Regions from separate parts of the Homo sapiens genome. Here regions 1, 3 and 4 are each linked to region 2. The links are contacts of gene promoters, found by promoter capture Hi-C in blood cells and fetal thymus (Javierre and others, 2016). All regions are on one chromosome and are shown on one strand. The core of a region is centred on a gene start or on the middle of the fragment in contact, and the rest is flanking DNA. Distances in the headings are between cores, read along the strand shown. Region 1 overlaps TENT4A (terminal nucleotidyltransferase 4A). Region 2 holds the start of MARCHF6 (membrane associated ring-CH-type finger 6). Region 3 overlaps ICE1 (interactor of little elongation complex ELL subunit 1). Region 4 overlaps LINC02102 (long intergenic non-protein coding RNA 2102).

Evidence for each region. The method cuts DNA at HindIII sites, captures the fragments that hold promoters and counts their contacts. A CHiCAGO score of 5 or more calls a contact.
Region 1: a contact is called between a fragment that was not itself captured here and the fragment with the promoter of MARCHF6 in region 2, in 3 of 17 cell types (non-activated CD4 T cells, naive B cells and naive CD8 T cells). The highest score is 11.2, in non-activated CD4 T cells.
Region 3: a fragment that was not itself captured here is called in contact with the fragment with the promoter of MARCHF6 in region 2 in 1 of 17 cell types (activated CD4 T cells); the score reaches 6.5 in activated CD4 T cells.
Region 4: a contact is called between a fragment that was not itself captured here and the fragment with the promoter of MARCHF6 in region 2, in 3 of 17 cell types (total CD4 T cells, activated CD4 T cells and non-activated CD4 T cells). The highest score is 7.3, in total CD4 T cells.

The regions. Positions count from the first base shown.
Region 1 is chr5:6,719,651-6,725,458 of GRCh38, forward strand. The region is part of intron 1 of TENT4A (terminal nucleotidyltransferase 4A); the gene reads left to right. Among named protein-coding and RNA genes, the nearest start is that of TENT4A, 9.1 kb to the left of the region's middle. RefSeq lists an enhancer at 2,030-2,079. The HindIII fragment of the contact is 6,065 bases long and covers 1-4,986 here.
Region 2 is chr5:10,350,338-10,355,885 of GRCh38, forward strand. MARCHF6 (membrane associated ring-CH-type finger 6) reads left to right here and starts at 3,358. Exons shown (of 26, transcript NM_005885.4): 1 at 3,358-3,580. The coding sequence starts at 3,562. It overlaps MARCHF6-DT (MARCHF6 divergent transcript), which reads right to left and starts at 3,720. Exons shown (of 3, transcript NR_183261.1): 1 at 3,635-3,720; 2 at 1,201-1,436. RefSeq lists enhancers at 2,917-3,176, 4,023-4,594 and silencers at 3,317-3,456, 3,497-3,966. The HindIII fragment of the contact is 4,878 bases long and covers 1-4,765 here.
Region 3 is chr5:5,428,954-5,434,685 of GRCh38, forward strand. The region is part of intron 1 of ICE1 (interactor of little elongation complex ELL subunit 1); the gene reads left to right. Among named protein-coding and RNA genes, the nearest start is that of ICE1, 9.1 kb to the left of the region's middle. The HindIII fragment of the contact is 4,322 bases long and covers 118-4,439 here.
Region 4 is chr5:6,701,118-6,707,127 of GRCh38, forward strand. LINC02102 (long intergenic non-protein coding RNA 2102) reads right to left here. Exons shown (of 3, transcript NR_103771.1): 1 at 3,991-6,010; 2 at 1,441-1,592. Among named protein-coding and RNA genes, the nearest start is that of LINC02102, 3.6 kb to the right of the region's middle. The HindIII fragment of the contact is 8,406 bases long and covers 1-6,010 here.

The DNA.
Region 1 (5,808 bases), core at 704-3,203, 3.6 Mb before region 2:
TCTCAGTCAGCGCTGACAGGTGTCCAAGTTACCTGACCTGTTGGGAACATGTGCCTGAGTGAGGTGGCCAGGATGCCTTTTCTCCCAACACTGGGGATGCACACTCGTCAGCATCCTATTTTTGAGATTTCTATGTTGTGGTAGTTCTCTGTTGCTGTGTAGCAAATTAACATAAACTCAGAGGCTTAGAAGAACACTCACTTATGGTCTTAAGGATTTTGTGTGTCAGATCAGGGATGGCGGGGCTGGGTTCTCTGCTTAGGCTTTTGCAAGGCTGAAGTCAAGGTGTTGGCCAGCTGTGTTCTCAGCTGGCACTCAGGGTCCTCTTACCAGCACATTCCTGTTATTGTCAGAATTCAGTTCCTTGCAGGATGGAAGTCCTTGATTGCTTGCTAGCTGCCAGCAGGGGAATTGGGTAGGGCGCTGTCAGCTTCTTAAGGCCACCTGCATTCCATCTGCAAAGCAAGGTACTTTGAATTTCTCTGATGTTTTCCGCCAGCTGGAGGAAGCCCCCTGTTTCTATGGGCTTGTGTTATTGAGTCAGGCTCCTGCAGATAACCTGCCTACCTGAAGGTCATGTAGTAGTACAACATGATCATGGTGTGATAACCTCATCAGAGCCACAGGTTCCAAGGAGTAGGGTGTAGGACCTTGAGGGGAGGAGGTTCTTCTGTGGGTAGACTTCCCCTGGCATAGAATCCGTTGATGAGCAGGTTGTGGTTCTTCTTGTCCAACACTTTTCCCCTGACTGGACTCCAGCCCATCGCAATGACTCTTGCAGATTGCCAGTTCCGTCCTCTGGCTTGGTGGTTACTACTGAACTCAGGCAGCCACTATAACCAGGAGAACCTTTCTGTGCTGCACTCAGATGAACATTCTTTAAAATATGTCATTTAAGAAAAGTTTGCAGGACTACTCGGGAGGCAGAGGCAGGAGAATCCTTTGAACTGGAGAGTTGGAGGTTGCAGTGAGCCGAGATCGCACCACAGCACTCTAGCCTGGTGACAGAGCGAGACTCTGTCTCAAAATAAATAAATAAATAAATAAATAAATAAATAAATAAATAAATAAAAGTTTGCAGGAAAGCCGTGTGAATATATGAAAATACAGTGATTGAAAAGTCCTGTTCACGAGGTGTCCTGCATTGGCTAGTTTAGGAAAGGGGTCTTTCCTATGCAGGTGGGGGTTGATGACTTACCCAAGAGTCACCTCTGGAACCCAGTTCTCTTAAGTTGATAGCAGTCTATCTTTGCTTTGCAGAAGATGTGGGGAACACTTGTCCTGCAAGCCCAGGTTCGTAGCAATGTTGGCTTCCCCAGAACCTTGGCTTCAGAGCACTGTGCCTCCTTTAGGAGGCACAAGAAAACTCCCACACGGTTCTTCCCTCTGTCCCTTCCTGAGCCCCCTGAGTGTTTGGCTCTTGTGGAGTTGCTGCTATTACTAAGTTGATCCCACTGCCCTCCTGAGTCTCCTCAGGGAAGGAGGGGCTGTATTGTAGCCCGCATTCTTAGTGCCAAGCACACGGTAGCCACTAAGTAAGTATCTCCCAAGAAAGAAGAGCAGGAGGAGGATCTGCCAACTCAGGAGAGCAGGTGGGGGATGGCAAGTCTTCGGAGTATTCATAAACCAAATGCTAAGGGAAACTTTTGTTGTTTGTCTTAGAATTTTAAAAAATAAAGTCTGTTGCAGTTTATCTGCTTTCCTTCCTGGAGAGTGGCTAAACTAGTGTTCTGTTTTACAATGTAGAATGCAAAAGCAGAAAACATTCAAGAAAATTCTATACTGTATTTGAAAAACATCACCATTTAGTTTTAACTGCTCTTTGTTTCTTATTATAAAAATTAATACCTAACTATGAAAAGTTAGAAAGCCTGGAGAAGTATGGAGGTGAGTTGTCCACCATTGGGCCACTAGAGAGTGCCCTATGAGCCTGTCCCTGGTGTCCTGGACTCTGGTGGTGTGCACTGCATTTGCTGGCAGTGAGCCAGGGGGTGGGCCACATCTGGGCCCGGGCGGGGTGGATCTCTGCAGAAGTTTATCCATCTCTTGGCTGACAGGGTGGGCGAGATGGGAGCAGCTCTGAGGGTCCCTGTTGGCAGAGAATGTCTTTGATTATCAACAACATGCCTTTTTGTTGTGGGCTTGTGATCCTTTTCTTTCCTAAATCAGCTGCCGTGCATAACCAGTTAGGCTCTCCTGTGGCTTCAGATTGGAGTTAGTTTCCCAAGTGCTAGGATGTGGGTGTTAGGTGATTTCTGTCTTTCCGTTTGAAAGAGATTTCAGATCATTGTAACATTTCTGGAATCCTGTCGATCTGAAGGAATGGCTAGGATGTAGTAGTTTAAGGGAAATGAAAAGTCGAATGTATTTTGATGTTTCTGCATCAGACCTGCTCGGTGGAGTCCATTTCTCAGCTTCGGGAGCCACGTGCTTGGCTCTTGAGAGCCTAGCTCCATCAGCCCATGTCACACACTCACAGGTCTGGCTTTAGCTGGTTTCGCCATGGTTTCTAACTTGAGCCTCAGTTTCCCCCCCTGTGAAGCAGAGCCTGTGGCACCCACCTCAGAGAGTACATGAAAGACTTGGAAGCACTCTGTGAGTTGTCATGCGAGAGATTAAAAAGGCCACCGCTGCCCTTTTCTCCTCTCTTTAAGGAAATTGAAACCAAAAATTAAGTCCTTCTTGCCAGCTGGACAGGAAAAGCCTTTTTCTTGGTTTTTGAAAATACAACTTCCACTTTCAGACCAAAGTGAAAACTGCTAAAGACTGAATATTCTGAGTCTTGGGAGTGGGGGGCTAGAGGGGTGTTGTGAATTGAAAGATACCTTTCTATTTTTAAAACATTTTAACAATGCCTTAATGATGAATAATGTCTGTTCTAGTTTTGCATTTGTTAGTTTTTTTTTTTTTTTTTTTTTAACTGTTCTGAAGGTACATCAGCACTGTTCTACAGCTTTAAATAAGAATCTCATCTCCCCAGAGGCAAGGGTACTCTTGATGTATTTGCTCAGGGCTGTATGTGCTGCTCCGTGTAACTCATTTAAAGTTGGTTAAGGTTTTTTTATTTCTTGCACATAGTAGAAGGAGTGGATGAAGTGTTTTCTGAACTCTTTGCAGCTTCTAACATAGTGTTCTGTGTATAGTGAAGGAAAACAAAATTAAGGGCCAGGGAACATTAAGTAGGCAACTAGAACAGCACTGTCCAGTAGAACTTCCTGTGGAGATGGAATAATTCTATTTTTGCACTAATACAGTAGCCACTGGCCATATGTGACTTTTGAGCACTTGAAATGTGACAAATGCAACTGAGGAGCTGAATTTTAATTTTATTTACTTTTAATTAAAATTTAAATGGCCATGTATTTAGACAGCTCTGAACTGCAGTAACTTTAGGCTCTATTTGAAACAGTGTTTGATTCAGTAACTGTTGCTGAAATAAATTGAAACTCATACAACAGTAAAAGCTGTGTTACTCAGCAAGTTATCACTGTGAAAGCTCTAGAAATTGTTTGAGTTTCCAATGCAAATCCTTTTCAAAAAGCCGCTGTTTTAATAGCACATGAAGCATAAAATAGGTTCATAGCAGAGCGCAGCACAGAGCAACATGGAGCAACTGTTATGACCTGGAGTGTCTCCAGTCCAGCATGCAGGTGATAGGTCTCAGCATTTTTGCACGCAGGTTAATGATGGTGCAGACGGTCACTTCCTTCTCTCAACAGTCTTCCTGGTCACGAGCACCATTGTGGCTCGTGTGTGGGGCTCTTTTGGCTTAGCTCTCTGCACGAGTTTGCTCCTTTAGTTCCCAGAGCTGACCCTTGAAATGAGTGATATTACTCCTGTTTTGTAGACAGAAAACTGAAGCCTTGACAGTCTGACGTGACCTGGCAAGAGGTGCTGCAGTTGGAAATGTGAATTCACGGCTGACATCTGGGCACTTTACTCCTAACAGTGTTCAGTGAACAAGACGTCGCTAACATGCGGGGGATGGAACCTAGCAACTCATTCTACAAACATGGTTCAAATATGTTGGTGCAGGGCCTTTTGCTTTGTTTTCCTAAAGAGATTAGATTCAGATGTGGTGGGGTGCTTTGACAGCCACCGCAGGACAAAGTTGATAGCTGTGGGGTTGCGGAGTGTTGAGGATTTCATAGGGAAGCCAGTCCTGCGCAGTAGTACGCTCAGGTTCGTGCTTTCTTGAGGTGTTCCAGAACTGGCCTGGAGGGAGGCTGCAGTGTGGAAGCGGGATTTCTGTCACCTGGAGTATTCTTAGAAGTTGCATTCTATGAAGAGTGGAGCATCTGATGAGCTGTTTACTCGCTGTTTCATCTGACGGCAGTTGAAAGACAAGGCAGGACTGGCAGCGCAGCTGCCTCAGTCAGCACTGCTGCACTGGGGGCTTGACCTGCAGTCTCGCAATCCTGGACTATAACTCATTTTGAAGAGAGAAAAATTAAGCATTAAGTGATTCAAGCGTCTTGCCCAAGGCGCTACTAGAAAATAAAGGCACTGGTGCCCAGATGCAGGTCTGCATGGTATGCAAGCCTGGGCTTCTTCCCACCTCCCCCACAGAGAGGGCACTGGTATGTTGGAGTGAAGAGCCACGCAAGACCTCTGTGAATGGGCAGAGATGGGCCAGTGACGCAACACAGTAAAGTGTATTTTGGTTATAGGCATCGTCTCTAAACTTATGTAAAACATTATTAAAAAATGGAAGGACAACGATGAAATGATGGCCAAAAATATAGAAAAGGATACCTTGCATGTCCTGTGAAATGCAAAGGAATTCTAAAGTGTCATTATGAGTTACCTCATGGAAGAAAGCAAAAGGTGAATCTATCTAGAGTTTGTGGTTCTGACTCACAAGAGACTGATGTTCATGCTGAAGGACGAGTGTGACAGGTGGAAGGATAGAGCACCGAGACCACACTCTAAAGGGTAGGAATCTATGGGAACTATTCAGGGAGATGAAAGCATGGAATGAACTGAAGCTTGCAGACTCGTTGAGTAAAAAGCGCGTTTTAGGATTGGTTTTAGAATAAAATAACAAGGCCTGTGGTTGGGGAAGATGACTTGCTGTTCACAGAGCCTCCCTTAATAGGTGGGGACCTCAGCTTTTCCTCTGCTGCCATCAGGTGAGTGGTGTACAGTCCTAGCCACAGTAGTAATCACCACTGGCCTGACTGAGCCCTCACCCTTTATACAGTGTCTCCTGCCACCCTCCTGGGAGAGGCTGTTCTCGGCACAGCTGGCCTGGGGTCACACAGCTGGTAGGTGTAAAGCAGGCATTGGAGTCCAGGTAGTCTCACTCCGTAGCCTGTCTCTTTAGCCACTGGAAATGTAGAGCAAAGCGAGAATTGTCCAAAGAGATAAGCTAATAAAGAGGAAAACAGGCTGGGTGCAATGGCTCACGCCTGTAATCCCAGCACTTTGGGAGGCCAAGGAGGGCGGATCACAAGTTCAGGAGATCGAGACCATCCTGGCTAACACAGTAAAACCCCATCTCTACTAAAAATACAAAAAATTATCCGGGCGTGATGGCACGCACCTGTAGTCCCAGCTACTTGGGAGGCTGAGGCAGGAGAATCTCTTGAATCCAGGAGGCGGAGGTTGCAGTGAGCCGAGATCACACTACTGCACTCCAGCCTGCGTGACAGAGCGAGACTCCGTCTCAAAAAAAGAAAAAAAAAAGAAAACAATTATGCTGAGTTCCAGAGAAGTGATGTCTGTCTTCTCAGGAGAGATGCCGATGCTGTCTGAGGGCCTGCCCAGTCTCCACATGATTCAGAGACTCCAGAGATGGACAGCTAG
Region 2 (5,548 bases), core at 2,108-4,607:
ATAAGTTTCAATTTTTCAATTTCAACTGTCCCAAGAATATATTTTTTAAAAAATTGGACTGGGTGCAGTGGCTCATGCCTGTAATCCCAGCACTTTGGGAGGCCGAGGCGGGTGGATCACGAGGTTAGGAGTTCAAGACCAGCCTGGCCAAGATAGTGAAACCCCATCTCTACTAAAAATACAAAAATTAGCCAAGCATGGTGGTGGGCACCTGTAATCCCAGCTACTCAGGAGGCTGAGGCAGAGAATTGCTAGAACCCAGGAGGCAGAGGTTGCAATGAGCTGAGATCACGCCACTGCACTCCAGCCTGGGCAACACAGCAAGACTCTGTCTCAAAAAAAAAAAAAAGTGTGTAATATTTACTTCACAGGATTGCTATGGATGTTCATTGGACATAATAAGGAGTTTGGTTAGTTGTCATTGTTAGTTTGTTACAGTTACACTGTGTCCCCCTACACTTCCCCTCTTACTCATTGCTTATTGGGGTATGGAAAGCCAGCATTGCTATAGCATTCTCGCAGCACAGTACACACACACACACACACACACACACACACACACACGAGGCTGGAATCATGGGTATACTATGTCTTTAATAAAGGATCTTTCTTGGCCAGGCACAGTGGCTCACACCTGCAATCCCAGCACTTTGGGCGGCCATGGTGGGCGGATTGCTTGAGCCCAGGAGTTCAAGACCAGCCTGGGCAACATGGTGAAACCCCATCTATACCAAAAACAAACAAACAAAAAAACAAACCACAAAAATTAGCTGGGCGTCATATGCCTGTAGTCCCAGCTACTTGATACTCGGGAAGCTGAGGTGGGAGGATCACTTAAGCCAGGGTGGTGGACTGTTGCAATGAGCCAAGATCATGCCACTGCACTCCAGCCTCGGTAACAATGTTTCAAAAAAAAAAAAAGTATTTTTCTTGATTGGACAATGAGAATTCTAATTGTAATGGATATCTATTGTTTGGTCCTCCCCCTTCTTGTGGGAAACGGTCTTTCTCTACTTCCACAAGGTAGTGTACATTGTTCTTACCTGAAATGGCAGTTACAAGAACATGACAATGTCCATGTTCTTAAAGATCCTAGATCTTTGGCACAATCATTTGATTCACGGACAGGCAACTAGCTGGACCAATGAACTAGCCTTCCCTGAGAATTTTTAACTTGGGACTAGAGATCATCATCCTTACCTCGCCTGTCTGATGATGAGGCAGAAGATGAAATGTTGGGAGCTGTCAGTGGCCTTGTTTCCAGACATATGGAGGAAGCTGGTCTAACAGCATGAAGCCAATGTGCAGAGAGAGTTGCAGAGCTGAGCCATAGGGGCAGAGGCATTCTCGTTCTAGTAGTCCCAGCAGTCCCTCCCCTTCTTGGAGTCTGTCCATATCAACAGTACATTCCTCCCTTCTGCCTAACAGTTGAGTTCCTGTCAATGGCAACCAAGAGAGGTGTGACTGATTCATGTATTCAAAGGGCTGTTGTGAGAACTTGTGCCTGACTCACAGTGGGGACTCAACAAATGTTGGTTTATTACTCTTATATTTAACGCCTAAAGTCTGAATGCGAAAAGGTTAGGGCAATTCCAGAAGGAATTACTATGCAGAAGGGAAAACTGGTTGACAGGTTAACTTTCCTTTGAACATCACAAGGGAAGGCACCTAAATACAAAAGGAAGGCTTCCTCCACGCCCCCCATACACACACATTCCCTTCATCCTAACCTGGCTCTGCAGCTCCGAGGGTCACATACCTGCCCTTGGCACTACTAGTACTTCCTCCAGCAAGTCTCAGTCTTTCTTTCAGAATCCTTCGCCCTTATGCCATGTAACATCTGATCGGCCCGGTCTTTGCCCCTAGTATCAGCAGGCCAATACGTGCTCTGCTACAGGTCTTACAGGGAGGGTGAGCTCTTGGAGTTGGATCAGAAGGAGAGGGGCTGGGGAAAGATCGTCTTCAAATTGTTTCTTTGGCGGTAGTATATATAAACATATTTAGGCAGGGCATAGTGGCACATGTCTGTAACCCCAGCACTTTGGGAGGCCGAAGCGTGAGGATCGCTTAAAGACAGGAGTTGAAAATCATACTGGTCAATATAGTGAGATTGCAGTGAGCCATTATCGCGCCACTGCATTCCTGCCTGGGTGACAGTGCGAGACCCCTTCTCAAAAAAAAAAAAAAAAAAAGAAAGAAAAAAATCATAAGCAAACAACAACAAAAAAACAAATATAAAGAATGGCGGTCTGCTTAATTCTCCGTGCCAGCCCTTGAAATCAGTGGGTATTATTATGTAGAGTTTGAGTTCTTTCCTCCCTTGAGTAACATGAGTGACATCAGTAACATTAGTCAAGCGCTGCTCTTTTTGAAAGACTGTATTTCATTATTTTTATTCTAAACCTTACTCTGTTTGATGAAGATTGGGGGAAGAGCCCTCCCAATTCCACCGCTCACACATAACAGCGGTTGCTAGCATTCTTTATTTGTGCTAGGTCATCTGCATATTGTTTAAACATTTTTCGAGGCTGGAAAGACTGCTCCCACTCAGGCAATTCTGACGTGGCGGCCCTTCTAATTTATATTCTCTAAATAATTCTTCATTTAGAGAAAACAGTCAGGGATTACAGTGAGGGAGGGTGACGTGCTGACGGGGACAGAGCTTGGCTTTTGATCATTCTCCCCTTAGCTCTGCCCAGGCAAGCGTCCCTAACTCAGGGTATCGGAACCGATCTCCCTTAGAGGATTATGTTTCAACCACCAGCCTCAGCGGTTTACTCAAATGTCCTTCCAGCCAAATGCAGAAGTCTCCCTGGGAGTAATTTTGGTGAAGTCAGCTTTTGCCTTTTTCATCACAGGCAGGCTTTAGTAGTTCCTCAAAACGTGCACCACAACTGCCCGGCTGCCAAACAGAAATGCTGATGCCTGGGCCCACTCTAGCCATTTGGCCTCGGCATCACGGTGCGGGAGCGTGGGGCGCAGACTCGCATTGTCACAGGAACCTCCCGGCCTTCCGAAGAGCCCCGCGCCGGGGCCTTTGTCTCGCACGTCGGCTGGGGCGGGAGCTAGGTTCTCGCAGCCTCCTCCCACCGCTCTGCGCCTTCTTTGTCCCTCCAGAAGCCGCCATCAAAGCTCAGCTCCTGATTAGGTTTCGGCCCCGCTGGCCGGCGCAGTCTCGGCGACTACCCCAGGCGGCCTGGCGCACGCGAGGATTCGCCGCGCCCCAGATGCAGGTGCCTCCCCTCCTTAGCCGCCGACCGACAGTGCACGCCGCGGCCGCCGGAAGTGACAGCGCCTGTCGTTGGGGAGCTCCCGCCCCTTCCGCCTCGGCGCCCCGCCCAGGCCTCGCCCCTAGGTGTTCCCGCCCCTCCCCCTCCCGTGTCGCTCGCTTTCTGTCAGCCTCTCTCCCTCTCCCTCTCCCCTCTCCTTCCTCTCGCTTCCTCTCTCGCACCTGAGCGTACGCACCTGCCCGGGCCCGGCTCCCTCCTCCTCTCCCCTCCCTCTTTCCCCGCCCGGCCGCGGGAGCCTCGTGGCTGCGTCACCGCCGCCCCCCCAGACAAGATGGACACCGCGGAGGAAGGTAAGTCGGCGACGCGCGGCGCCCGAGCCCTTGCGTCGGCGCCCGGGTTCGTACCCCGGCCAGGTCCGCGGCGCTCGAGGTGGGCTGCTGGATCGCGGCGGGGCGGACGCCTGGGCCGTTTGTCCACCCGCTGGGCCTCTGGGCCGGGGAGCGGAAGGTGACCCTCTGCGCGCCCCCCGCCGTTTCCCGCCCGCGCCGCCGAGGGGGGCGGGGACCCTGCCGGGCAGGGGCCGGGGCCGGGGTCGGGGCCTCGGGGCTACTGCAGGCCGGCGTGGCCTCCCTTGTCCCCGCCGTCGCGCGCTGGCCCAGAAAAGGGGGCCTCTGTCGCTGCCGTCCGGGGGCGTTTTCCGCACCCTTCCCCCACTGGGTTTTGTCTTTCTTTACGTCCTTCTGCCTATTGCTCGCCAGGCCCTACCCCCTCGCGACAGAACTTCTTTGTTGACTTTGAAACTTCGCGAAAAATACCCCGCCAGATGACGGCCGAGTGGAGTGAGCTGACCCCTGTTGAAAAGCCTGGTCCTCGGCTTGCCTGCCGCTCGAGAATCTGTTTACTAAACGGGGAGGCTCTTTTGTTGCGATCCATTTGGTTTTAAATCCTTGACACCTATAAGCAGGGTTCTGTTTGTTTTGTTTTGCGATTGCTTGTGTTTTGGATACGGTTACATTGAACAAACTGACCCTTGTAAAATGAATACTTAAGATATAAACGTCCACACCTTATGTCTCTTCAAACGCATTTTCTTACCCACTGAAGGTAGTAGATTATTTTTAACCAGCTGTGTTTTTAAATGAGTGGTGAGTTTATAGAGGAAATTACTAAATTTTGCTTTTTTTGATGTTCCGGTTATCGTGCAAATGCTTTTCTACTTTAGGTATATTTATGGGGGTATGAGCGTCTTTCAACCTTATGGGTTGCGATTTTGGCGATTTTAAACGAAAATGAATTATCAAACGCCGTCATGGAGTGCAATAATGAGTGAAAAAAGTTTGATATTATCTATGTAATGAGTTGATAACGACTTATTTTTTTTTAAAGAAGTCTTGCCTTTAATAAATACCTCAACTATAACATGTGGCACTTGATGTACATTCGCGTTCCATCTTCGTAAAAAGCCTGTGGAATAGGTAGGTATTATCTTTTATAGATGTGGAAATGTAGGCTTCGTTATTTTAATAGCTTGTCGAAGCTTTACACAGGTAGTAAGAGGCAGATTTGAACCTAGGCATTCTGATTGCAAGTAATTTCCCTTTCATTATGCCACAGTGTGTTTATTATATACACTGAGTGTAGCTAATCGCCACTGGAGACGCCTTTGGAAAAAATAGTAAAGCGAAACTGCTGAAGGTTGCGAACTATTTCTTTTTGACAGGTGGTCCTTGCGTGTAAATTTCCATCTACATAGGTTTCACATCCTTTTAGATTCAGGTTTTAATGAGTAAATCTAGTAAGGCATGTATTTATCACAGGATAGGTACGGACGTATTACATTCAATTCTCATTCTTTTGGCCTGGGCATTGCTACTTGCATACTTTTATGGTGTGACAGTAATCTGTGGTAATTCAGGAATTGCGCTCGAAGCACGTATGGAATCATGAAATATTTTCACTGTACTTCTAGTGCTTAAATATATTTTTTCTCTTGTAAAATTATAATCAGGATAAGGTATACATAACATTTATTTATTGAACACTGTTGCCTGTTAAAATAACATGTGCTGAAGACTCAACGTGTAGTATGTGCTTTACTAAACACTTTATATACATTTCATTTAATTCTCTCACATCGTTAGGTAGTCGGCATTTTCATTTTACAGATGAGGAAACTGATGGTTAGTATGATTAAGTAACTTGTCCAGGATAATACAGGTAGTAAATGGCAGAGGCAAGATTCAGACTCATGTCTGTCAGAGTCGCACTTAAATTAGATTATTTATTTATGAGTGTATACTACAAGTCCAATGTTGAAA
Region 3 (5,732 bases), core at 1,029-3,528, 4.9 Mb before region 2:
CATAGGACTTAGCATATAGTTATACTCATGGCTGTGGTTTCTTACAGGGAAAGCATACAGAGTGAAGTCAGTAAAGGGAAAAGGCATATGGGGCAAAGTCTGGGGAAATCAGGCACAAGCTTCTGAGAGTGTTTCCCAGTAGAGTCACACAGCACATGCCTAATTGCTCCAGTATCGTGTTGTAACAGTACTTGTGAAGTGTTATCTGCCGGGGAATCTCATTAGGGACCTAGTGCCTGAGTTTTTTTTACTGGGGGCTGGTCTTGTAGGCACCCTCTGCCTAGCAAGCACCAAGATTCCAGACCCCCACAAGGAAAGCAGGTGTTGAGCATAAACCATACATGATGAGCCATTTTCATCAGTTTGGGGAATGATGGGAAGGAACTCTCCAGAAATCCGAGTCCTCAGGTGACAGCCAATGGCCCACCTTGCAAGCAGGTCTTGCTAAGGATCGTGTTCTCAGGCCTGCTGGGTTAATTGTTTGCTGCACACACACCTTGGAGCTTGGGGAGTGCTACAGCCAGCTGGTAGAGGCCAGGGATTCTGCCGAACATCCCGTCTTCCTTCTAGCCCAAGATGTCAGTAGTGCTGAAGTTAAGAAACTGTCTTCTCTTACATATTTACTGATTTGTTTGAGCAGACTACATATCCCATTATCATCTGTATTTATTTGTTTGCTATATTATCTATATACTTACTACCTTAGCATAACCATTTTCCTGGCTACACTGGCCATGTCTTCTGTCATGTCCTCTCAGCTGGTATGCCTGCTAGCTTGCTCCTTGCCCTGTGTGCTCAGCCAGGTGTGATTCTACTTCCCCAAGAAAGGAAGGAAGCATGGGCATCAGCATTCACAGTGACAATTCAGGAGGGTATTGTATGGATAAAGTTAAAATTGTCTGGTAGAGGGGAGAAGTAAATGGGAAACAAAAAGTCTTGAGTAAGAGAGTGGGCTGCTCTGGGAATTGTGTTAGTGAATTAGTATAGCTTAAGAAATCACCCAGAAGGCAAAGAAAAGATGGTAGTTATGAGAGAAAAGAGGAGAGAATTGAAAATAAGCCTGAACTTTCCAATAGACTATATAATAGAAGCTCTAGAAGAGGAGAGCAGGGCTGCTAAGAGAAAGCGATAATCGAGGAAACAACCCTTAGTATCTCCTGGAGAGGAAGAACACCTTGAACCTCACTTCTTCCATAGCAGCTGGACCTGTGCAGGAATGAATGTGGGTCAGAGGAGCCTGATCGCCCTTCACCCAGGCACACCCTGCTCACTTTCACAATTGCGAGGTTCATTATTTAGAGGCCTTGGTTTCAGCCAACATAAATGACATCTGAATCTGATTGGAGGAAAAAAAAATGTTTTATCAGAGTATTACAATATCTGACCACAGATAATACAGTATCTGACCAGATTTGAGCTGATATGCAGCAGGGCCTTGGGAAATAATGTTAGTCAGAGACTAGAATGCTATCGGATAACTGAGAAATCTTTTGTTTTCTCATTATACTGTTTTGTGATCTTGTTTTTTGTTTAATCACAGTTAAATATAAAAAGGCAGCTAGACAGATATACAAGAGTTGTTAAGACAACAAGTCAGCAGCCCCCAGCCCCACTCATCCCTGCTTTCCAAGACAGAACCATTTTTAATTGCTTCCACTGTGTATTTTACAATGAATTTTCCTGTTGTTAAATAGTAGACTCATTGCTGACTTTGGGAGGTGAGGATTCAGCTCTCTTACTGCCCCATACTCCACCATGCCTAAGCATATCTCTTCTTTCTCCATTTGTTCAGTATAGTTATGATTTCAGTTAGATCAGTATTTGAAGTTGACATTATTAGGACTGTTATTTGAAGCTAAGCTGTGGTGTTTTCTGCATGGTTTCTTGTTTTCCCTGATAATGATTGTATCTTTAATTCAATTTTTCATCCTGAAGATATTAGTGAGTGCTTACTGCTATGCCAGGGACTGGATTGAACACTTTATATGGTGCATCTTATTTAATCCTGATAGTATGCCAGTTATTTAAACTCTTTTTGCTTCAGTTTCTCCATCTGTAAAACTGATGAAATAGTTTCGAGGCAGGGGAGAGGTTAAATAAATTTGCCCAAGGTCACTTAGCAGAAAGTGGGGGTGGAATAGGAATGTGAATCTGACTCTGTGACTCTGGAGCCTGAGGTTTCTTCGGGGTCTCTGCCTAAGTACTTGGCAACTCAAAATGACATCTAGAAGCATGGGAAAGATGAGCTAGGGTACCAAAGAACTCAAAAGAGAATGGGAGAAAAAAGAGGAAGAATCACTTTTATTTTAGAAAAAATAATAGTTTAAATGCATGTCCAAAAATAACTGCATTCCCTTGCAAGTCTCTGCCAGTTTGGTATAAATACTCGAATGTTTTCAGTCTTTCATTTTCTTCTCCCTTCGAGCTTTGGGGCCTACTGTCATCTGGTACGCAGCAGCATTCTGAGGGCTCTCTTCACCCCCATCTCCATTCCGAAGGACCATGTTCACATCTTTCAGTACCCCCTGAGAAAGAATGTCTGGGAAGTAAGTTTGTAGAGACTTTGCAGATTTGAAAATATTTATTGTGTAGAATTTTATCTTGGAATTACTTGCCCTTTGCCATTTCGAAGGCTTGCTTTCTAGGTCTAGTTTTTCGTGTTGGTGTTGAAGTCTGAAGCCATTCTATCCCCGATTCTTTGTGTATCACTTGATGCCTTTTATTTTGCTCTTGGGATTCTGGTAGGGTCTTTGCTTTGTCTCCAGTGGTCTGAAATTTTGTGTTCTTGTTTCATGGTTTGAATCCTATTGAAGTCCATATTCCAGGCCCTTTCAATTAGAAATTTCTAGATTTGCTTCTGGGAACTTTTCTTGAATACCAGTATTTTTTTTTTAATTAGGTCTCCATCTTCGCCTTATTCTTTATGTGGAACTCTTATTGTTGGGTATGTGGGGCCTCTTGTGTTGATACCCTATTTGTTTTTATTTATTTTCCTTCTTTCTCGTGTCTGGGTTTTTATTTTCTGCATCCTTTTTTTTTAACTTTATGGTCAAATATTTTGAGTCTTTGTTAGCTATAACAGCATTATTGAAATATAATTTACATATAAAATTCTGCCTTTTATTGTATACAATTCAGTTCAATTCACAGAGTTGTGCAGACATCACCACTACATAGTCCTAAAACATTTTCATCCTCCACCTTCCCCAAAGAAACCCTATACTAGTTACTAGTCATTTCCTGTCTCTGTACTCTTCCTCCAGTCTCTGGCAGCCACTGGATTACTTTTGGCTCTGTTAAGGAAAATTCATATGAATGGACTCTAGAATACACGTGGACTTTTGTAACTGGCTTTTTTCACTTAGCATAATGTTTCAAGGTTGGTCCATGTTGTAGCATGTATCATTCGTTCATTTTCATTGTCAAATAATTCCTGTTGTATGGATATGTGACATTTTGTGAATCAGTTCATCCTTTGATGGACATTTAATTTATGTTCACTTTTTGGCTAGTTTGAAATAGTGCTGCTATAAATATCAGTGTGTAAGTTTGCCGTGGACTCTATTTTCAGTTCATACCTAGGAATGGGACTGTTGGATCGTTGGGTAACTATTTAACATTTTGAGGAACTGCAAAACTAGTTTGCTCAGCAGCTGCCCCATTTTATATTCCCACCAGCAATGTATGAGGAATGTATTCAGTTTCTCCACATCATCATCAACACTTGCTATTGTCTGTCTTTTAATTTTAGTTATTCTAGAGTGTTCATTTTTAATTTTTAAGTTTTTTCAATTTTAAGAGCTCTGAATATTCCTTTCAAAAATAACTTGTTTCGCAAATATAATATTATTTATCTCATCCTATTAATAAACATTTTTTAAGTTTTCTTTTCAGTTTTTGTTTACTTCAGGTTGCTTTTGCTTGTTTTAGCCTCTTTCACACTGCAGGTCTGTCTCATGTTTGGAAGTCCTTGCAAAGAGCGAGTAGCAGATACACTGAGGATGTGGGGCTTCTGGACCCTGAGTGTCAAGGCAGGACAGTCTGGTTGGGCCATTTATTGATTGAAGAATGTCTAGTGTCATTACCTTTAGATATTATCTGTAAGAAGGTATTTCCCTTCTTCTTCCTGGAAGACAGAAGGACTACACTGTTTGGAAGCCTAATGAAGAGAGACAGGCAGCCAGTCTTAGACCACTGTGCTTAGGTTTATTTAATCTTTATGCTTTTGACATAGTACACCTGCCCCAAGGGTCCCTGGTGTTACAGAGACCTTCAAAAAGCAAACCTCTTTCTGCTGGATGGGGGAGGAGTGATTTCTCTGAGGCATGGTGGATGGTTGGGGATTGGGATTAAATGCTTATGAGAAAGTTTGCAACTAGTGCTTGTTTTAGTTCCATTCCCCTTCACCTTCTCAAAAGAATCCATGTTACTGATTCTCAAGCTTGTTGAAGTTTTGCAGTATAAATGGAGCTGGTTCTCACTTTTCCCCACTGCTGGCTTTCTTGGGTGCTAAATCAGTACTCTTGAGTCTGCTTTCCAGTTTCCGTTTGTCTTTTATCCTCTTGTCATCCTTGTTGGTTTTGCCTTTTGAAAAAAAAGTTTTTGACTGTATTTTTAGCTGGTTTTAGGGAGGGAAATAAAAGCAAATGCATGCATCCACCCTCTCTGCCCAGAAATCTGGATTAGGGCCCACTCTAGTCCAGTATGACCTCATCTTAACCTGATCATATCTGTAAAGACCCTATTTCTAAATAAGGTCATTCTAAAATACTGGGAGTTAGGACTTAAGCATGTCTTTTGTGGGACAGGTCATGATTTAACGCTTAACAGATGGTGACCCAACAATTCTGTACCTAGCAAAGTCTTATTCATGCATGAGAGGTGTTCCTAGTTTACTCCCTCCTTACAGTTTTTAGCAAGGGAAAGGCATCCTAGTAATTTTAGTGCAAAAATGGTATAGGCATATCACTTATGAACATAGATGAAAAAAAAAAACCTAAGTAGGATATTGGGGAATTGAATCCTCAGTGTGTTTAAATAATGTTAACATAGTGTTCAATTACTTTTATCCCCAGGAATGTAAGGCTGCTTTATCATTAGAAAATCTATTGTAGTTCACTGAAATTAATAAATAAAGGGAGAAAAATACATATTCAAACTAAATACAGAAATTTATTTGATGAAGATTGATACCTATACATGAAAATCTTTTAGCAGACTGTGTGTAGAAGTTTCATAACATGATTAAAGGATATCAACCAATAACCTGGAACAGAGCAAATTTAATTAACTAATTCCAACTTTTAAGACAAAGACACCTGTTATTACCCTTACTATTCAATATTGTGCTGAAGCCTTAGTCAGTTCAGGAAGGAGGGCAAATGAAATGTAGGCATGAGTAAAGGTAGGATAAAATTATCAGTGAATGTTACAACTATTCACATAACACACCCAAGAGAATCTGCAGATAAATTATTCACTGCTGGATTTACTTTGCATATATTTTATTTAGATCTTTTGTGTGTATGTTTATAAGTGACATTGTTGTAAAATGAGCTGGTCTTACTGTAATCAACAAACAAAAATTAGTAATATTTTTGCATACCCTTAAGAACCAATTAGGAAATGTAATATAGCAAAAACAGCAACATAAAGATAGTACTCATGCTAGTGGTAAAAACAAATTAAGCTAGGGTGTAAAAGCTAACCAGGATGTAGAAAACATCCTTCAG
Region 4 (6,010 bases), core at 2,642-5,141, 3.6 Mb before region 2:
CTGAGCTTTTCCATACAAGAGTGGACAGAGTTGGCATCGTCACTGTCCCCAGGTACAGGCAGCTAACACAGGGACATAAGTGAGTAAACCTGCAATGAACTGACCATGTGTCAAAGGACCAGAGACACAAGAGAGGGCCTCCTCGAGGACAGCTGAGCCAGATTCCAGGGTTGACGGAAAGTTGGGGGCGGGGGGCTTGAGCGGCTCACGGACAGCTTTCCCAGACAGAGAGGGCAGTGCTCAGGCTCTGCAGCGTGGAAGCAGGCTGCAGCCGAGGGTCTGAAGGGGTTTGGGGTGGCCGGGGTAAGAGTGCCAGCAAGGTGGTGACAACACTAGAACCTAGAGGAGTAGAGAGTGGAATCATGACAAAAGGAACCCAATGGAGGTGTCCAGGCGGGGGCTGGGCCACTGACGGTAAGGTAGAGGCTGTGGAAAATGCCCCTGAATGAGAAACTGTTTGTGCAATGCACATGACAATTTGTGTCAATGGTGCATCTTTTCCGCTGTTTCCAGTCTCTAGAAACTCTTTTATTACAGAACAATTGAGAAGAACACAAAGGCAGCCTCCCTCCGAGGTGACTCACATTCTACCCGCTGCTCACTCTGTCAGTAACACTGACGTTTTTTTACACAGAATATTGAACACTTGCCCTGAAAATCTTGCCTTTGTGCCTGCTTTCAGGTACAGGAGTAACGCTGGGGCCGTGAGGGAGTCTGACCGTCAGTCCTGATTCTGGGCCCGTGACAGGAAGCGCCACGGGTCTGGGTTCCTGCCATCCATCGCTGGCCATGCACCCTGCACCCACCACACGGGAAGAACCACAGGTAGAGTCATTGAATAACTGAATATTCAACGCACAAGGAGATGTGTGTTGAAGAACCAAGAGGGAGCTGGCCACAAAGACAGGGCAAAATTTTTGACAGTGTTGAAATGTTTTTTTTCCTCTTGATTCTGGACATCCTGAAGTCACAATATCCAATGCTCTTTCAGCATTTTTATGATAAAAAGCAATCACCTTATTAGTGGCTGTGTTTAAAGCTAGCCAGACTGAGGCGGTAAACAGCACTGCATTTATTCGTGTAGGCGCTACGAACCTGAGCACCAACTGGGACCTCCATGCGTGGACTGGGCCATAGTGAGAGAGAGGCATGGGGCATAGTGCATGGGAGAGGTGTCCTTGGTCCAAGGATGAGTGAGATGGTATTAGAACCTCCCATTCCTGCTGCATCAAGACATCAAAAAAAGAAGAAAAATAGAGCCTCCCATTTATTCTCAAGTGTTCTGTCTGTCCTCTTAGTCAGAGGCTCACACATCCCACCCTCACCACGTGGCTTGCAGGGCTCCCTGGCATTGCGTTGGCCAATGGTATGGAATTTGGCATGACATTGCTATACCCAGCAGAATCTTGAGGGCAAATGTGTAGTTTCGCCATGTCTCACCTTCCTTTGCCATTGACTGAGATGGGTTGCTACTCCAGCCTGGGTGCCCAAACACGGAAGACAAGATGTGGGGTACTGCCTGGGAGGACAGCCACCACCAATGTGTGCCATGTCGTTCCTATGAAACGCTGAGGTCCTGGGGATGTCTGTTACTGCAGCATAAATGAGCAAGAGCTAACTAATAAAGAGATTAACATTTAAACATTAAAAAAACATGGAGTGGGCCAAACAAAGCACGCCCTGGGCCAGCATGCTCTTTGACACATGATGATTACTTCCCAGCTTCCAGAGAGGCGCATGGGATCTTCCGCAATGCTAGGCAGGCTGCCCCTTTCCTTTTCTTTTTCCTTTCCTTTTTCCTTTCCTTTCCTTTCCTTCCCCTCCTCCTCCCTCCCTCTCCCCTTCCCCTCTCACTCCCCTTCCCCTTCCCCCCCTCCTTCCTCCCCTCCCCGTCCCCTCTCTTTTTCCAGACAGGGCCTTATTCTGTTGCCCAGGCTGGAGTGCAGTGGCGCCATCATAACTCACCGCAGCCTTGACCTCCTGGGCCCAAATGATTCTCCCACTGCAGCCTCCTGAGCCTGGGATCATAGGCGTGCACCATCACACCTGACAATTTTTTTTTTCTTTTTTTAATAGAGACGGGGTCTTCCTATGTTGTCCAGGCTGGTCTCCAACTCCTGGGAAACATAGGAAGACCCCATCTCTATTAAAAAAAAAAAAAAAAAAAAGAAAGAAGAGGCCGGGCGCAGTGGCTCACGCCTGTAATCCCAGCACTTTGGGAGGCTGAGGTGGGCAGATTACCTGGGGTCAGGAGTTTTGAGACCAGCCTGGCCAGCATGGTGAAACCCCGTCTCTACTAAAAATACAAAAAAAATTAGTCAGGAGTGGTGGTATGCACCTGTAATCCCAGCTACTCAGGAGGCTGAGGCAGGAAAATCACTTGAACCCGGGAGGCAGGGTTGCAGTGAGCTGAGATTGCGCCACTGCACTCCAGCCTGGGTGACAGAGTGCGACTCTGTCTCAAAACAAACAAACAAACAAAAAAAATAAAAAAAGAAAAAAGTGACCCCCCATCTCAGCCTCTGTGCCTGGCCTAAGACAGGTTGCCAAGATCACTACCAGTATGCGCTGTCCTTTCTCAAGGTGTCTTCAAGGAGAAGTAAGTACACTGTGGACAGCCCCCTGGCAGTAACACATCTCCTGCAAGCCTCTTTGTGTAGGAGGATTTGTTCTCCTGGCCCCTCCTTCCAATACCAACATCTTGAACTACAATTGTAAACCAGAGTCCGGACCCAGGGTTGAGGTCCTCAAATACTCCTATGGAAGAGACCACGTTTTCCCAGCTGCATGGAGGCATTTCACAGCTAAAACCACTCTTCCAATTCAAAGAAGTAAATGAATAGACAACAGCTGTGAATAATGTCTTCTGTGTTTTTCCCTAAACATTGGTTTTGTGGTCATGTCTTCGCTGGTGTTGAAACACTTTTTCACAACCAATGATTATGTATGTGATTAAAACCTCGGAAATGGATTGCCTCGGTCATTCACTCGTTTTCAAGGATGCCACCACCATGTTTAGAATGTGGCTGTCCCATGCTTCTCCCCACCCTTGCCCCTGGCCTTTGTGCTTCTGTGCCCTTTGTGATTTTAGCCATCATCCGTGTAATGGCTAAAATTCAGAAGAAAACGGCTAAAATTCAGAAGGAAAGTAAAATTACAAGCAGCATTTTTCTCAACAAACAGCCCACTGGTGACCTCGTGAGGGCACCAGCCATCGCCTATGCCTGTCCTTCTGGTGGCACAGAATTCACTGGAAAGGTCTCGGCCAGCCAGGCTCTGTGTCCAGCCTCTGTCTGTGTCTCTAAGGGGGGCCTGCACCTCCCGGGCTGCCTGGCAGGGCCTGTGAGGCCTCACTGTCATGAGAAAAGAATCCACAGGTCTGTAAACTTGCTATTTTTAGGCCTCAGTGGACTTGCGCCAGTTTCCTGAGTGTAGTAATTACCCAGATATTTTATTGAATAGGGCCTTGAAAACTTACAACACACACCTCAAACCTACTCAGAAATTTAAAGAGGTTTAAAATGCCATGCAGCGAATTCTCAAAGACAAATGACAAGCCCACGTCTCCATCCACCTCCCCCCACACCCTCAGGCTGCTCTTACCCTGCTTCTCTGCGCTTTCCACACCCGTCCCCGCCCGGGTGAGCTCACCCCATGCAGCTCTGCTACATGCCAGCCAGGCAGGGCTTGCTCCGTGACGGCCCTTTCCAGACTGGCTTCTCTTCTAAATGCAAGCCTCTGTGTCCAACTGTCTCCTGGGGATGTACGAGGGACATCTCCAACCTAGCATTTCCTAAAGAGGGATGCTTCCTGCTCCACCCAGTGTCCCCCATCTCAGGAAATAAGACTTTCATCCATGGCTGAGGCCACCGACCCGAACGGATGCTTTGTTCACTCTTTGCCTCCCTCCCCACTAGCTCCCCATGGCTGGCTCTACTTCAAAATCCATGCTGCATCCAAATCAACGCTGCTCCCCATTCAACCCCTTACCTCCAGAATCTCCTGCGGGACTGCCATAGCCTCCTGAGCCCCTGTCCCAGTGGGTCCACTGCCCAGTACTGTTCCACACGGCATGTAATCTTCTAGAGTATGTCAATTTGACCTTGATTGCCTGACTCACCAATCTCCAAGTCTTCACCTTCTTACCATGGGGGAAGGAGAGCCTGGCCTGCGAAGAAGGCGCACAAGTCTGTGGGTGGTTTCCTTTCCGAGGCCCACGAGGTTGCACTTCCCTCTGGTTGTTAAGTGTGATGTATAGAAGATAATGACTCAAGTGCCTGGATTAGCAATTGTGGGGACTAGCAATGCCCCCAGCCTACCCTCAAAGTCCAGGCTTGAACAATAGAACAAAACAGACACCCAGAGGGTTTGGCAGGGAATAGAGAATGATTAGAGAGATAGAAAAATTAATTAGTTCATTACAGCTGGGAGCAGGAGAGCCATTCTCTTCCATTAATGGGAAAGTTGGAGCCTGAACCAAGAGCAGAAAGCATGGAGCAGAAGCCATGGACTGATTCTTCCTTCAGTTAGAGGAAGCAACAGGAGAAGCAGAAGACTGAAAGAAAACTCCAGCTTCTTCAAGAAACACGGAGAAGGAACAGTGGACGGGTAGGATGCACAGAATAGGTACACGGCGCTGGTCCCTCTTGTAAGCATCTCATGGACATGCCTGCTTTTCATCTTCACGTAATTCCAGGCATGAGTTACAGAAATTTTCCCCATTCTGAGGCCAGTAAGTTTAATCAGTTTGCCTGAGGCCACATAGCTAGGAAATGGCAGAATGATGGCAAAGTCAGGCAAATTCGTTCCACAGTCCCTGTTCTTAACAAAAACAGAAATCTAAATTTGAGAATGGGCTGTATGCCCTGTTGAAAGACTCTTAAAAGAGAGAGAAAATCCAGCAAACTTACCCTGAGATGGATGGTCTGGGTTTCTTCCCATTTCCTAGAACTGCTTACCCGTGTGGAGCCATGCTTACTAACCCGCTGCCCTTGATGCCAGTGAGGCTTGGTGCTGGGCTGCCAATGACCTCAGTTATGGGGCACGGCAAACTTGGTGACTTTAGCTGCAGGCAGAGTCTGGGGTGGCGGTGCCTGCAGTCTGGTGTGCTGTAATGTAAACACCCAGGAAGGCTTCTGGTTGTTGCTTTAGGCCTAAGGCAGGGAGCCGGGAGAAATAGAGAAGGGAAGGGGTCTTCATTAGATGAGAAAGGAATATTGAAAAGTGAGGATTTTTCTGTTTCACTTTCATTTTATTTGACCTTTTACATTGTAAATTATATTCATTTAAAAAATAAAGAAAAAGAAACATTTCTCCAATAAATGGAATGCAGGACACATGTTAATACGGGCAGTGAATGTTAAGCTACACAGCGATTTTAAAATGAATGCACCATCTTCCTTGCTCAGGCAGTGGCTCCTGCGGTCACCATCTAAGGCAACCTGTTCCGACCTCCCTGGTGGAAACCTGGAAGCTCTCTGAACTTTCCTCTCTCCTTCTTCCACGTTGAATCAATTACTGAGCCCCCAAAGATTTTACCTCCGAAACATGTTGTGGCAAAGTCAGTGTGCTGTGTTTGCCAGACCCAGTTCCTTTTTGTTCTGGGCTCTCAGCTGGACTATATAGTCCAGCCTCCCTCAAGTTAGATGGGGCCACATGTCTGAGTTCTGGCCACCAAAATATGCATGTGAGTGATGTGCTGGCCACCCCCCAGACCTGGACCCTAAACCTCCTGCAGGATGCTCCATCCTATTTCTTCCCCTCACCCCTTTGCTGGCCCTCTGCAGAGAACTAGCTGAAAACTCCAGGGCCCAAGGGAATGGCAGAACTTCTGCCTGAAAGAGCCAGGATTCCTGAATGACTGTGTGGAGCAGAGTTCTCCTTCCCCATACCCCAGGCCCCATGCAGGCCCACAGTGGACTGGGAAGTGAATAAGAAATAAACTCTTAACATGTGATGCCACTCTGATTTGAGATCGCTTCTTATAGCAACTACAATAACTGACCCTAAT